Linked DNA regions of Homo sapiens: region 1 is linked to region 2. Evidence: promoter capture Hi-C in human tissues and cell types (Jung and others, 2019). All regions are on one chromosome and are shown on one strand. The core of a region is centred on a gene start or on the middle of the fragment in contact, and the rest is flanking DNA. Distances in the headings are between cores, read along the strand shown.

What was found. The method cuts DNA at HindIII sites, captures the fragments that hold promoters and counts their contacts. A contact is called where the count stands out against the background at its distance.
Region 1: a fragment that was not itself captured here is called in contact with the fragment with the promoter of GLE1 in region 2 in 2 of the 25 tissues and cell types used here (dorsolateral prefrontal cortex and heart right ventricle).

Annotation. Positions count from the first base shown.
Region 1 is chr9:128,691,846-128,694,615 of GRCh38, reverse strand. SET (SET nuclear proto-oncogene) reads right to left here. Exons shown (of 8, transcript NM_003011.4): 3 at 2,616-2,758; 4 at 1,851-1,954; 5 at 1,635-1,748; 6 at 808-978; 7 at 574-720. Among named protein-coding and RNA genes, the nearest start is that of SET, 4.0 kb to the right of the region's middle. The HindIII fragment of the contact is 6,023 bases long and covers 1-2,770 here.
Region 2 is chr9:128,503,399-128,506,666 of GRCh38, reverse strand. It overlaps GLE1 (GLE1 RNA export mediator), which reads right to left and starts at 1,948. Exons shown (of 16, transcript NM_001003722.2): 1 at 1,763-1,948. The coding sequence starts at 1,861. RefSeq lists an enhancer at 1,548-1,707 and a silencer at 1,928-2,137. The HindIII fragment of the contact is 8,169 bases long and covers 1-3,268 here.

The sequences.
Region 1 (2,770 bases), core at 1-2,500, 190 kb before region 2:
CTTCAGGATTAATGCTGAGACTTGCTTTCATATGGACCACAATGGACCCCACGAGTGCCCCTGGGGGCACTCCAGTTTCTAAACCTGTAAGTCAGCTGCATCGAAGGAAACACCCGTGATGATGTTGCTTCAGATTAATTAGTAACTTCAGTTCTAACCAAATCAGGTATATTTCGGATCAAATAATCCGAAATAAAACCAACCTATCCTAATTTGACTATTCAGAAATTGTGCAGTTTGTCGAAAATACATGAAACTTTGTTATTTCAGAGATGTCAGAATTTGACCAGCTACACTGCCTATATTGCCTAAGTACTGGCTAGGGAAAAACAAGCTTGGGTGGTGATAAGTCTAACCAAAAAAACCCAAAAAAAAACCAAAAAAAACCTAGTTAAACATTAGTACCATGTGCTTATCAAACATTTCCTTAATTCTTGAACAACAAAATGGCTTACTTTTTTTCCACAATCAGTTCTGGTCAGTTCTACCACACTATATATATATATATACACCCCAAAATAACATGAATTCTTTAAAAGTTATCTTTGTGGGTTTAGCCAAATTTTCTTTTACCTCTCCTTCCTCCCCTTCATCATCATCTTCATCTTCTTCACCTTCATCCTCATCCCCTTCTTCGTCAATATCTTCTAATCCTTCCTCCTCTTCATCATCATCATCATCTTCTTCTCCTTCTCCTTCTTCATCATCCATATCGGGAACCTTAAAAAAAAAAAAGCACAATATAAGGACTCATTTTTAAACAACCGAGACAAGTCCAACCTTGAATAAATGAGTATTAGAACTCACCAAGTAGTACTGTAATGGGTTTGGCCAAATATCATCTTTGATGACCTCTCCTAACTCATCAGCACCTGCATCAGAATGGTCAGTAAACCAGGTAAAGAAGCTCTCTGGTTCCTCATGCTGCCTCTTCCTGCTGGCTTTATTCTGCGTTTGACTCGAACGTTTCGTCAAATCCTAAATGAATACCGGAAGAGCTTTTGATACAATCTCTCCATAACACCCAAACTCCCTATAATTTAAAAAATAAGATTTTCCCCAAAAGCTAAGCAAAACAAATATCAGTATACTATCTACGCTACCATTATTACCTAAGAGCAATTATAAAACTGTGCAGCAGGTAGAGGTAGTATCAACTACATTTGGTTTTCCATAAAATTAGTTCCACTGTTAACAGCCACTAGCACAACACAGTATAAATATCTAAACTATGTCTTACTACCTAAATACGGATGTAAATGATTTTGAGAAATGGCAAGCCATTTGAAGAGCTCAGTCACCACTGCAGAAAACAACAGCAACAAAAAATTTAGTCCAGTTCTCAATTCTTAAACTTGGGCTAGATTTTTCTCTTTTTTTTTGTTTTTTGGAAGGTAAGGGTCTATGTTGCCCAGGGTAAACTCCTAGGCTCAAGAGATCTTCCTGCCTACATCTGTAGTATCTAATGAGAACCCTAAACTACTGTAATACTTGGCTTCAGCACACTGGAACGTTTTATATTTTAAGGTTTTGTATTTAGCCACATGACCAAAGTATCAAGCACTTGTAAGTGGTTAAAACTAAACTGAAATAGGCAAAATGCTATTTTTGTCAAATAATTCCTCAAAACATACCTTTCCAGATTTCCATTTGATTTCGGTGGACTTCGAAGATGGATCACCACTCTCATTCAGATGAAATTCTTTGGAGAGAACTTTATTTTCAAAGTAAGGATTTTCATCAAAATACTGTAATAAATAATTGAAAGATTAGAAATATGAACAGGTCTTCCAACCAAAGCTCACATTAATTTCCACAGTGGCAAACAAGATTAAGTTAGAGATACTTACAAAATCTATTCTGTAACCTGATTTAATATCTTCAAATTCTGTCACTTCAACTCTGGTCAAATAATGCAGTGCCTCTTCATCTTCCTCCCCAAGCAGTGCAGACACTAGGCCAGAAAATTACAGGTCAGCTGAATTTTCAACAGGCACACACTAACAACAATTTAAGTGATCCCTTTAAAATTTTTCCGAACTTAGTGAGCATCTTTGGTTTTATAAACCCATTATTAACTAAAGGCAATTGCTCAATATCAGACTGTCACTATCTTTCATCAAGCAATTAGAATATAGCTTCTCCTAAACAGAATAGAAAGCAGTAGCTGTATATCTTTTCCCGTCTTTGAGGTTTTTTTTTTTTTTTTTTTTTTTTTGAAACAGTCTCACTCTTGTCGCCCAGGCTGGAATGCAAAAGCGCACAATCTCGGCTCACTGCAACCTCCCCCTCCTGGGTTCAAGCGATTCTCCTGCCTCAGCCTCCCAAGTAGCGAGTAGCTGGGATTACAAGCGCGCGCCACCACGCCCAGCTAATTTTTTTTGTATTTTTAGTAGAGACGGGGTTTCAACCTGTTGGCCAAGCTGGTTTCGAACCCCTGACCTCAAGTGATCCACCCACCTCGGCCTCCCAAAGTGCTGGGATTACAGGTGCGCCACCGCACCCAGCCTGTCTTTGTTGCACGCAACCCAGCATGCTGGACTAAGTCTTCACCAAGCTTCCTCCATTCTAACAAACACTGTTTATCCTTTAACAATGCCCTGTCCAAAACATACCTTGTGGATGGTTGACAAATGTTGTTACCCAAAAATTTGGGATTTTGGCGATCAATTCTGACCTCTTCTGAAAAAATGGTTGGCGGAGTTTGTTATATTTCTGTTCTACTTTCAAAATCTCCTCACTGGCTTGTTCATTAAGTCTGAAGCAAATG
Region 2 (3,268 bases), core at 699-3,198:
GAAGCAATGGTACCCAATCAAGAATCTCAACACACTCAACTCCCAGATCTTGGTTTGCCAATACAGCACCATCCTCCACTTCAAAAGAGTCAGCCTCTTTGGAGAAATAGCTGATTCCAGGATTAAGACAGGGAAACTTGCACCTGGGACATCTTTTTGTGTCAAAAAGTAAAGAAATGTCAATGAAAGATGGAAATATGTCACAGGAACACAGGAACCAACTTAATGAGGTGCCCAGTAGCCAAATCTGGGACATTTTTCTTTTTAATTCTTATGAATACATAATTGTTGTACATATTTACAAGGCTACATTTTTTTTTTTGAGACACAGTCTCACTCTGTCACCCAGGCTTGAGTGCAGCAGCACAATCTCGGCTCACTGCAACCTCTGCTTCCAGGGTTCAAGCAATTCTCATGCCTCAGTCTCCCGAGTAGCTGGGATTACAGGCATGCACCACCATGCTCGGCTAATTTTGTATTTTTAGTAGAGATGCGGTTTCACCATGTTGGCCAGGCTGGTCGCGAACTCTTGACCTCAAGTGATCCGTCCCCCTCGGCCTCCCAACGTGCTGGGATTACGGGCCTGAGCCACCACGCCTAGCCTTGCATGTGATTATTTTGATACAAGCTTACAAAATCTGGGACATTTAAAATAAAATAAATAAATAATAAAAGTAATGGATTACAACTCACTGAATAAAATAGAAAGCACCTCCTTACAGTAGAATGCCAACTAACAAATGCAGAAGGAATAGCGGATATAAAGAAACAGGATCTGGCAACGTCATAGAGGTATCGATTCATGTGGAAAACATCAATGAATGCTAAAGCCATGGAGGATTAAGGTTTGCCCAGAAAAAAGGATACTGGTATTATTACTTCCCAACAATTACTAAGGGAAAAATGACGAATTTTAAACGGAGAGACCAGGCAGATAATAACGTAACCAGGTGATCAAGATTAGCATCACCAGTGTTGGGATGGGTTGACATCTGTGTGCCTCCTCATGTGACTTACTGAGAAAGCCATGGCATCATTTCTGTGGTATTCCTGCCAAGAATGCTTAACCTTGGTCTGGTGGTTTGAAAGCACATATGCTGGCAGTCAACCTACAGAATGTAAGGTCTGTATTTTTCAAAACTGTCAACAACATAAAAGACAGGGAAATACTTTAGGATTGTTTCCCAAGAAGTCTGAGGATGCAGGACAACGCCTTATCTGTAGCTAACTAGCAGCGACTCGGGAATGGGAGCTCGGCCTTAACTCTCCACATCCCTCCACTTCTCGCGCAGAGCTTTGCAAATGCTAGGTACGGTGACCACGCCCCCATTCACTTTCCAGGTCTGCCAAATCAATCTAAAAATTTGGTCATTTCACTAGTAGCAATGGATTAGGTCGTGTCAATCGTTCGTCGCAAACTCTAGAGCTCCCAGCACATGAGACATACAGTAAGTTAACTGAACCTGGGGCCGAGATTGCTTTGACAACAGCAGAACGGAGAAGGCGCCCAACTGGCGGAGGGTAGCAATGAAGCCTTCAGAGCGCGGGGCACCTGTGAAGTCAGGGGAGCTCCCCGAAACGCTAAAATAGGCTGAAGAGGACAGAAACCCCAGGACAGAGGGATGTACACACAGAAGTCAAGAAATAAATGCAGGTTGTTAGACTGCACGGGTTCCCGGGAGCAGAACGTGCCAACGGCTAGGGAGAAGGTTTCGGTCGCGAGGGGCCGGAAAGGCCTACGTCCTCCGGGGCCACCGCTCACCTCGCGCCGCAGCAGCCAGTCGCGGTAGTAGCAAAGGCGACCTTTGTCGGAACTGCGTAGGGCCTTCAAGGTCTCCCAGCAGCGACCCTCAGACGGCATGGTTGGCTAAGGGGCAGCTTCTCTGACGCCCCCCTTCTGACCAAACAAGCCCTCGAATCAGCCGCCGGGAAGGCCACACAGGCTTCTGCTTCCGGGACGCGCGCGCAGCACAGCCCCGCCCCTAACGCCTGCACGCCCCACCTCCGGCGACGCTCCCGCGTTCCCGCCCTCCCACCAGTGCGCCTGCGCGCAGGGCTTGGCTGTCGGGGCACGTTCCGCAGAGGTAACCACCGCTCCCAATCCCCGGGGCTGCTGAAAATTTGTCTGTGCCTTGAGACTGTGCAGAAACTGGAACCCTCATACACTGCTCATGGGACTGTAAAATGAAGCACCTGCTGTGGAAGACAGTCTGGCAGTTCCTCAAAAGGTTAAACAATTACCATTTGACCCAGCAATTCTCCTAGGTAAATATATATATATATATAAAATACGCCAAAGAAATGAAACCTATGTATATATAAAAACTTGTCCATGAATGTTCACAGCAGTGTTATTCATAATAGCCAAAAAGTGAAAGCAACCCAAACGTCCATCCATTGGTGAATGGATAAATAAAATATAGTACTATGTGCGCGGTTCCCGAGTTCCCCCGCTTTCTGTGCACTGACCAAGTATCAGAGTGCCTTGACCGCCCTGTGACCCAGCCAGCTGCAAGTTTTTTCCTGCAGACTTGCAACCAAACACGGGCCTTGCATATCCCTAGGCACTAAGGATATCTAGGTTATTGCCCAAAACGCTGAAACTGACCCCTGCTTTTAGCCAAATTCCATAAACCCTCATATAAACTTCATACCCTGACCCCTCGCTGGGGATGTACCTAGGTGAAACACCGCTTCTCTCTGTCTGTCGCGAGAATTGCTGCAGCCCACTCTGTAAGCTTCCCTAATAAATGTTTTGGGTTTAATGCTGCTTTTTTGAGACAGAGTCTTGCTCTGTCCCCCAGGCTGGAGTACAGTGGCTCGATCTCGGCTCACTGCAACCTCCGCCTCCCGGGTTCAAGCGATTCTCCTGCCTCAGCTCCCCGTGTAGCTGGGACTACACGCGCCAGCCACCACGCCCAGCTATTTTGTATTTTTAGCAGAGGCGGGGTTTCACCATGTTGGTCAGGCTGGTCTCGAACTCCTGACCTCAGTTGATCCACCCACCTCGACCTCCCAAAGCGTTGGGATTACAGGCATGAGCCACTGCGCCCGGCCATAGTGCTTCTTTGGAATCCCAACCAGCCCTGTTTGGCAGGAGGAAACACCACATCTATATAATGGAATGTTATGGGGCCATAAAAATAAAGTGCTGATGATACGCTGCAACATCAATCTTGAAAGCATTATGCTGAGAGAAGCCAGTCATGAATGGCCACATGTTGGACAATTCCACTTATGTGAAATATCCAGAAGAGACAAATCTATA